Linked DNA regions of Homo sapiens: region 2 is linked to region 1. Evidence: promoter capture Hi-C in 16 types of primary human blood cells and fetal thymus (Javierre and others, 2016). All regions are on one chromosome and are shown on one strand. Each heading gives the region's core, a stretch centred on a gene start or on the middle of the fragment in contact. The rest is flanking DNA. Distances are from core to core; before and after follow the strand shown.

Region 1 (4,496 bases), core at 947-3,446:
GCCTCATCCTACTTCCCTGTTTTATTTTTTCCTCTTAGTATTTATCATCTTCTAATAAATTAAATAACTTAGATATAGCCAGGCGTGGGGGATCATGCCTGTAATCCCAGCACTTTGGGAGGTTGAGGTGGGCAGATCACCTGAGGTCAGGAGTTCGAAACCAACCTGGCCAATGTGGTGAAACCTTGTCTCTACTAAAAGTACAAAAATTAGCTGGGCGTGGTGGTGTGTGCCTGTAGTCCCAGCTACTCAGGAGGCTGAAGCAGGAGAATCGCTCGAACCCGGGAGGCAGAAGTTGCAGTAAGCTGAGATGGTGCCATTGCACTCCAGCCTGGGAAACAGAGTGAGACTCCGTCTCAAAAAAATAAATTAATTAATTATTTTTTTAAAATAACTTAGATATAGCCGGGTGTGGTGGCATGCGCCTGTAATCCCAGCTACTGGGGAGGCTGAGGCAGGAGAATCACTTGAACCTGGGAGGAGGAGGTTGCAGTGAGCAGAGATCGTGCCACTGCACTCCAGCCTGCGTGACAGAGCGAGATTCTGTCTCCAAATAAATAAATAAATAAACTTAGATAAAATTTTTCAAGTGCCTACCTCGTCTGCCCCAAACACAAATAAACTAGAATATAAATTCCATGAGGAAAGAGATTTTTATTGGTTTTGTTCACAGCTGTTTTCCTAGCACCTAGAACAGTGTCTGGCACATAGTGGACATTCAAAACACATTTGTTAAATGAAAGGATTCATCCTAAAGTTAAGGATGGTTCAGTAAATCGGATGGAAGATGATGAAAAATTAAGCAATTAGAAAAAAACTGTCCTTGTGTAATGTGTCAACATGGAAACAGGACATAATGTAAACATCAGAATCCCTTGCTGTGATTCTGGTTTTTGTGGCTCTGGTTACATTGTTTTTTTGTGTGTGTTTTTTTTTTTTTTTGCTTTCCCGTTTCTTAAACATTGGCGTTCCCAAGTTTCTCCTTGGTCCTCCTGTCATTTTTATCTACTCTCGTAGCTTCAAATACCATCTAGTTTATAGTTTATTTAGCATGTTGTCCAAGCCACCGTCTTGGGCCCAGGGCTCTACCTGTAGCTTTTCATCCACACTTCTCAGGTTGCTTCTTACACAGCGCCATAGTAGTTAAAATACGGTCTGGGGATAGTCGTCTCTTCATCAGTCTCCCCCTATAAAATGGAGGACTCATAGTATAAGTTGCCTAGAACATATTAGTAAGGACTCAATAAATGTTTGAGTAGGATGAGCTGGGTGGCTCATGCCTGTAGTCCCTGCACTTTGGGAAGCCGAGGCGGGTGGATGGCTTGAGCCCAGGAGTTTGAGACCAGCCTGGGCAACATGGCGAAACTCCATCTCTATAAAAAATACAAAAAAACTAGCTGGACTCCCAGCTGCTTGGTGGCTGAGGTGGAAGGATCGCCTGAGCCCTGGAGGTGGAAGCTGCAGTGAGCCGAGAATCGCACCACTGCACTCCAGCCTGGGCGACAGAGTGAGATCCTGTCTCAATAAATAAATAAATAATCAGTTGAGTGCATACTGTGTGCCCAACTACCTTTAAGAACTTTACATATGATCCCGGCAGCCCTAAAAGGTAAGCATATCTATCTCCATTACACAGATTAACTAATGAGGAAAAGCTATGTTTATAATGAACAGTGACCAAAAAGTATGCAAACGTTAAATGAGGTGTTAAAGTGGTGGGATTGTAGGTGGTTTCTTTTTTTCTTTCAAAAATTTGTTTAGTATTGTAGTTAGGCTGTTTGTGTGTATGCATGTGTATGTGTGTATGAGTGCGTTTGTGTGTGACCAAAACAGTAACTGGCAAACGTAACAACAGGAAATTGTAGGGCAGGGTCTGGGAAAAGGGGAGGAACCCAAGGTACTGACAAGCCCAGACCGGACTCCCCCGAAGTGAGCAGGCAGCAAAGGCTGAGAGTGCCAGCTGCCTGGGCACTGACGGACCCCACCCACGGAAACGATGCCTTATGAGGAAGCTAACCCGGGCCACTTACCGACGACCTGCGCAGGCGTGGCTTGAGGAAACGCCCGCTGTGGGCGGAGCCACCCGAAAGGCTCCGGTCGGGGGCGGGAACAGGATCGGCCCGCGGGCTGGCGTCGATAGGCTGCCGCAGAGACAGGGCGGGCTCTGCTAAGCGACGCGCCTCGCCGTGGGGCGGTGCCTGCGCCTGAGCCTCTACGAGAGGGAAGGAACGCTGCTCCGAGCTCCGCGTCGCGTCGCGTAGATTCGCGTCGCCGTCGACCTCAGAGGCGGGGCCGGAAGCGCTACGGTTTGACCCCCGAGTCCCTCTGTTCCCGAAGGGGCGGCCGTCTTTCTCCCGACCCGCTCCGCCTCCTCTCCTTCTTCCCCATTACCCGGAGGCCGAAGCCCCCAGCCAGGGCGGGGCGGCGCAGCCCGAGCTCCCGGACCCGGAAGAAGCGCCATCTCCCGCCTCCACCATGGAGCCCACCGCACCGTCCCTCACCGAGGAGGACCTCACTGAAGTGAAGAAGGACGTGAGTAACGCAGCTGTGCCCAGGGCGGGCGGGGGCGGGCTGCAGCCCAGCGGGAGACGAAAGCGGAAGCCTGGAGTCCGAGGACAAGGAGGATCCTCCAGGTCGGAGGAGCGGAAAGTCCTAGCACAGGAGGACTGTGGCGAGCCCTGCATCCGAGGGACCTTGGTGGCAGTGATCCTCCAGTGATCTGTCAATCCAGGTTTTACATCGCTAAACGCAGAGCTTGGGCTTTGTTGCCAAGTGGTGTTTTGATTCTTGCCCACTCCTCACCCATCTCCTCATGCTTTCCCCCCAACTGGGTTCTTGGAGATGCTTCGTTAGGGACTGGCGGCTCAGATTCATCCTTAAGTCAGGCTGCCTAGGCTGCTCACTCAGCCTAGAGCGAAGGCTGTACCAGGTGAAGGATCCCAAGCAGTGGACCAAAAATGTGAAGCTCTTTTGCATAAGGGGGCTTGAGGAAGCTCAACAGCTGAAAGCACAACCTGGAATTCCCCTAGTAAGCAGACGCCCACATATTTAAATTGGGGTTGGGGGAGTGAATACACGTAGCTGAGAATTAATGTACAGGTAAACGTCGAAAATATTCAGTAGCTAAATTATGCTCTTCTCGGATGGTGCAGAACCACATAAACCTTCATATTTATTCGTAACGAATGGCTTTGTTGAGATATGACATTCTTTTTCCTTTGCGTTTACTTGTTTTGTCAGATGAGACCTATATGAGTATCACTAAAATACTTTATCTGAAGTCAAATGAAAAACAGAAACTCAACATGAAACGTGTTCTTATTGAACACTGCAGTACTTTTACAAAGTCATTTTGATGAACTGGACAGGATGGCAACTTTTTAAATGTTCATCCACTTCAAATCCCTTCCTCTTCCCTGTAAGGTTTATTACACTGTACTCACAATTGGTGTGACTCACCAGCAGAAGGAAACTGGATATGACTGGGAGTTGTGCTTAGTTTCCTCATTCAACAGAGATTTATGGAGCACTTGCTATATGGAAAGCACTGGCCTTGGGTCTGGAAGGATACAAAAAAATGAAGATCAGTTTCCTGCTTTACATTCTAGTTGAGATAAGAATGGAACATAAATAACTACTGTAGAATAAATGTTGTCTTATTCATGGTGAGTGCCAGTAAAACCTTGAACTTCCAAGAGCTAGGCCTCCTATGTTCCAGATGCTGTGTCACACAGTTTACAATGTTCCCACTTAACCTTCGCAACAACCTCTAAAGAAGATAATTGCCATTCCCATTTTACAGCTAATAAAACAGGAACTGAGAAATTACAAGTGGAAGGAAATAAGATCTGTATACAAGTACAGATGTGAAGAGTGGCTTCCAGGTCTTTGTTCTTCTCTGTCAATTCATTGATGTTATCTGTCTTCAGGATTTCATTTTACGCCTATATCAGAAATAAATAACCTTGAGGAAACCATGGATGGGTTTCAAAAGGTCTATGAAAGAAACTATGTGCATGCTTTTTTCTTAGAGGTTTTTTTCATGATATTTTCAAAATGTCTTCTGATCTTAGAGAGTTTTAAAATTATCCACATATTTGGACTTTTCTCTCCACTCTAGGTCCTTATTTCCAAATGTCTACTGGAAATCTACTTTTATATCCTACAGATTGCTCACCTTGTCAAATATTGAACTTTTACTATCCTTTTCCCAAAGTTGCTTACTGTTGCTGCTGTATTGCCTTTCTTGATGAATGGTGTGCTACCACCCTTTGTCTTGGGACCTCCCACTTCTTTAGTGTCTCCCCCTCCTCCTATCTAGTTATTTGCCTCATTGTGTTAGTTGGATTTAGTACAGTTTAATAAATATGGATTACATGCTACTGTGAGGCTGATACTGTGGTTGGTTCTAACAGTTCAAAAATTAAAAATGAAAACACAATCCTAACTTGAAAAGAGCTCAATTTCTTGAGGGGGATTGTTTTAAATCACAAAAT
Region 2 (4,496 bases), core at 1,335-3,834, 780 kb after region 1:
GTGACAGATTTCTGCCCAGTGTCACGTGACTGAAAGGCTGCTAGCAAACTTCAATTTAACAGTTTTTCTGAGCAGCCTGCCTTTAAGAAACTATTGCCTTAAATATGATTTAAGTGTTAATATACATATACAGAGCCACCCAAACAGGACTTAAGGAACTTCAATGGCTTTATGGTTATTTTGTTTATATCCTACATCACCTTAGCAGAATATATAGAAATAGTAGATGTCTAAGTGAATGAATGCATGCCTCTTTTAATTTGTTTTAGTTTAAATGCAAGACAGTATAAGGGTCTGATAAATTTGAGGATCAGTATACTGAATGCATTCTTAGTGTTGGCTTTTCTAAATTATGTGCTAGTTATCCCACATTATGTTCATTCACAGTAGCATTTTTCCAGTAATACTGCTTTCAAGACAAAGTAATAGTTTGCTAGAATGTTATTGCTTTTTGTTTAACCCTTAATGTTTTTAATAAGATGTTAAGTACCCTCAGGTTTGCACTTGAACAGCCTATTATTAATAAGCAAGATGTGCTACGCTTTGCAAAAATCAACATAATTCTACTGTTTGTACTCAGTCATCTGATGCTTCTAGTAACCAAGCAAAAGAAAACATACTTAATTAAATCAGTCTTATTTGCAAGCACTAGTTTTAAGTATTAAGAGCTCACTAGGCTGGGCGTGGTGGCTCACACCTGTAATCTCAGCACTTTGGGAGGCCGAGGTGGGCGGATCACGAGGTCAAGAGAGAGAGACCATCCTGGCCAACACGGTGAAACCCCGTCTCTACTAAAAATAGAAAAACTAGCTGGGCGTGGTGACGTGCGCCTGTAGTCCCAGCTACTCAGGAGGCTGAGGCAGGAGAATCGCTTGAACCGAGGCGGAGGTTGCAGTGAGCCGAGATCGCACCACTGTACTCCAGCCTGGCAACAGAGTGAGACTCCGTCTCAAAAAAAAAAAAAAAAAAAAAAAGAGCTCACTATTTGACTTAAGTCTTCAATTATTATATAGTATCTTCTTTTGAAGCAAGAGAAGTACTGTTTTATTGTAAGTACAATATTTCCAAAGATTGAGAAAACCTTCATTAAAATGTTCTCACCATCTGGCACTTCCCCCCCTCTTTGTTATGTATAGGTTTCCCAGGCAGCTGCAGACTTGAAACAGTTCTGTCTGCAGAATGCTCAACATGACCCTCTGCTGACTGGAGTATCTTCAAGTACAAATCCCTTCAGACCCCAGAAAGTCTGTTCCTTTTTGTAGTAAAATGAATCTTTCAAAGGTAAGTTTCCTTAAATTTAAAACAAAAACCCACACTGTAGGAATAACTAGTCTTCTCTTTCTTTGCAGCACTTAAAAGATCATCCCATGCCCTTTCCTTTGGCCCTCCATTTCCAGTATTTTTCTGTTTTGCAAGGAAAGTGAGGATTCATGAAACTTGCTGACTTAGTAGCCATGAAGGCTAATCGTTTCTATTTTACCATAAAGAAGGTTAAGTAGAGGATTTAATAACCATAAAGAGGGTATAGGAGAGTTACTACAAAATCCCACTGCCGTAACAAGCCATGTGTTACTTTTTAGAGCATTGGCCTAATGGAGTCCCCAAGTACTAGTTTTGTTTTTGTGTACCTGGCAAATATTTAGACAGTTTTTAAAAAATCTGCAATGTTTATGGGGATAACTTAAAGTACTACCAACTGATTTGGATTAACTCTTGATGTTATTGCTCTAACTGAACCCAGCTGTAGAGCAGTATAGCAAAGATTGGGAATTGGAAATGCAAGAGAAAGTCAGATGTAATTGAGTAAGCCAGTGTGGTAGAGGCGTTTGGACTGAGGTAGAACAGACTTTATATTTTGTTCTCATTTGTTAGATTAAAGATAAAACATGAAGGAAATGCAGTATATAAGTTCTTGGTGGCAAACAGACAGTGGACTGAATTTCAGAGAATTAAAAACTAAAGACCCTGTTGGCTTTATTAAAGCATGCTTCAGTACATTAATTTGTGCCTTCCAGATCAAATGTCATGTGTACAAAATGTATGTTAATCTAAGAGATGTGACCAAAAACGTTTTGGATCATTTAAAATGTAACTGAAGGGTGCTGCCTTTTATAAATTCTTAGTACTTTAGTTAGGGAATGTACTCATTAGTATTGACCTATGAGAAGCAAACTTAAACTAATAGTACTTTTTTAAAAAAGATTTTGTATATGGCACACACCCCTTACTAACTTTCTGACTTCTCCAAAGTCCAGGAAGCTGCTTCCTAAAATACCTTGTTACATAGTTGTGCCCTCCTTAATTAAGCTTCCTAGACCTGGGAGTGTCCAGGAAGTCTGTATAAGTACATGTTTCCAGTAAATACAATGATTGGTTAAGATGTTTAAGTTTTTTGAAATACCAGGGGGAAAAAAAGCCCTTTGAAAACAGGTGTCATGTGCACAAAAATGCACATGAAGAAGTAATTCACTTTCATATTTAACAGTTTATTATAATATCCTTTGTTTCTGGTACTATTCATTTAATTCTTCATGGTAGTTTTTGGAAGTTTCATATTTTTATGGTTTATTAATGATTGTTTTTTTAACCTCAGTTCTTGTATTCACTTTACAGTGGTTTATTTTCATTTGAATAAAATACTGGGCAGCTGTTAATAGTTTTACTTCATAGGAATCTACAGATAAGTGTTTAAATGAATTGCTCAAGTTTAAAAATATGGCTGGGGGTAAGAACCCAGAAGGTAAAATAATGTCTATTAATCCCAGCAGTATAAGAAAACAGCTTTGTGGATATTAAGATTTGCAGCAGTTTGGGCTAGGAGAATAATAATTGGGCATCAAAGCATTGCTTCTCAAGCTTGAATATATGCAAATCACTTTGTTAAAATGCAAATTCTAATTCAGAAGGTCTGAGGTGAGTCCCTAGAACTTGCATTTCTTACAACTGCCCACCTACACTGATGCTGACAGTACTGGACCTACACTGAGTGGCATGAATGTAAAGAATCTACATTGGAGTTATGTATATAAATACAGTTTTATCACTGGAGTGCAGTGGCGCAGTCTCGGCTCACTGCAACCTCTGCCTCCAAGGTTCAAGTGCTCCTGCCTCAGCTTCCTGAGTAGCTGGGATTACAGGTGCACACCACCACGCCCGGCTACTTTTTGTATTTTTGGTAGAGACAGCGTTTCTCGAACGCCTGACCTCAGGTGATCTGCCCACCTCAGCCTCCCAAAATGCTGAGATTACAGGCGTGAGCCACCGTGCCCGGCCCTGTATTTCCTTTTAAGAGGAAATTTTACTATTTTTTTTGAGATTCCAGCTTTTGAAATTTTTCCTCTTTTACACAAAACAAAATAGAATAACACAGGATTAAAAACTGTTAATCAGTAGAACATGTATGCACAAAAAAATGCAGATAAGACGACAGGCTTATTGACAGTATTCGCCGTTTTTCATTCTGCCTTTTTTAAATGAATTTATTTCATTAAATACTCTTTGTAAACAAGATATTTAATGGTTGTACTAAACTATGATGGAATTATACTTCACTGAATATTTAAGTTTCCAAAATTTGAGGTTACAGTGAGGTGAAGATTTTGGTGAACATCTATATATACTTAGTACCTCTATTAAGTTTCTAGAAGTAAAAAGGAGTGAACGTTTAACATTTTTACAACGTTGTACTTGATATCCCCTGCCAATATAATACTTTGGCCTTCCACTAGAAACATGAGAATGTTTTTTCCTTGAGTCCTAACAAACCTTAGTCTTTTCTGTCACTATTTTAGGTGAGATTAAACATTTTTCACAGCATTCTGTTTATGCCTTTTCAACATTTTTGTCACAGACTATCTCAGATTAACACTTTTGTACCTTTCCATATCAATAACTAATCCTAAAGTTAGTATGCTCATGTTTTAATTTTTTAGTACACTGTTTTTCAATTTAATGTTTTCATTTTTTAAATCTTTTAGTTTATACTCTATTAAACTGAAATATTATGGTTTGAAAACATAACTTATTTTTTAAGGCATAACTTATAATAGCTTTGTATTCCATCATATGTAGAAACCTTCGTTTATCCATTCTCCTACGGAGTTATATTTAGGCTGTTTCAGTTCTTTGCTGTTAAAATACTAATACAGTCAGTATCCTTGTACATGTTTCTCTATGTCTGGGTTTATCTAGGTAACTAGAAGTGTGGTTGCATCCTTTACTTCACTAGATACTGCCAAACTGCCCTGCTAAATATAGTCTTGCTCATTTTTCTAAGGATGTTTGGATTTTTGATTTAAGAGAGTTTTATTAACCTTTTTTATTATATACAGAATGTATTTTGGCAGTAATCTTAGCAAGTTAATCTGTAAGTCTGTTTATAAAACAGGAATGACTTATACATCAGAGTGGTTGTGAAAATTAAGGGAAAGATTTTACTGTTACTGGACCATAGGCATTTCCCATCCTGCTTCTTTTAAGTTATTCATGAAAAAAAT

The links. The method cuts DNA at HindIII sites, captures the fragments that hold promoters and counts their contacts. A CHiCAGO score of 5 or more calls a contact.
Region 2: a fragment that was not itself captured here is called in contact with the fragment with the promoter of BCL10 in region 1 in 1 of 17 cell types (monocytes); the score reaches 6.4 in monocytes.

Annotation. Positions count from the first base shown.
Region 1 is chr1:85,274,332-85,278,827 of GRCh38, reverse strand. BCL10 (BCL10 immune signaling adaptor) reads left to right here and starts at 2,196. Exons shown (of 3, transcript NM_003921.5): 1 at 2,196-2,532. The coding sequence starts at 2,476. BCL10-AS1 (BCL10 antisense RNA 1) reads right to left here and starts at 2,470. Exons shown (of 2, transcript NR_045484.1): 1 at 2,031-2,470; 2 at 740-1,187. RefSeq lists enhancers at 1,896-2,598, 1,804-3,003. The HindIII fragment of the contact is 19,185 bases long and covers 1-4,496 here.
Region 2 is chr1:84,498,611-84,503,106 of GRCh38, reverse strand. GNG5 (G protein subunit gamma 5) reads left to right here. Exons shown (of 4, transcript NM_005274.3): 3 at 1,137-1,281. The coding sequence ends at 1,262. Among named protein-coding and RNA genes, the nearest start is that of SPATA1, 5.5 kb to the left of the region's middle. The HindIII fragment of the contact is 549 bases long and covers 2,310-2,858 here.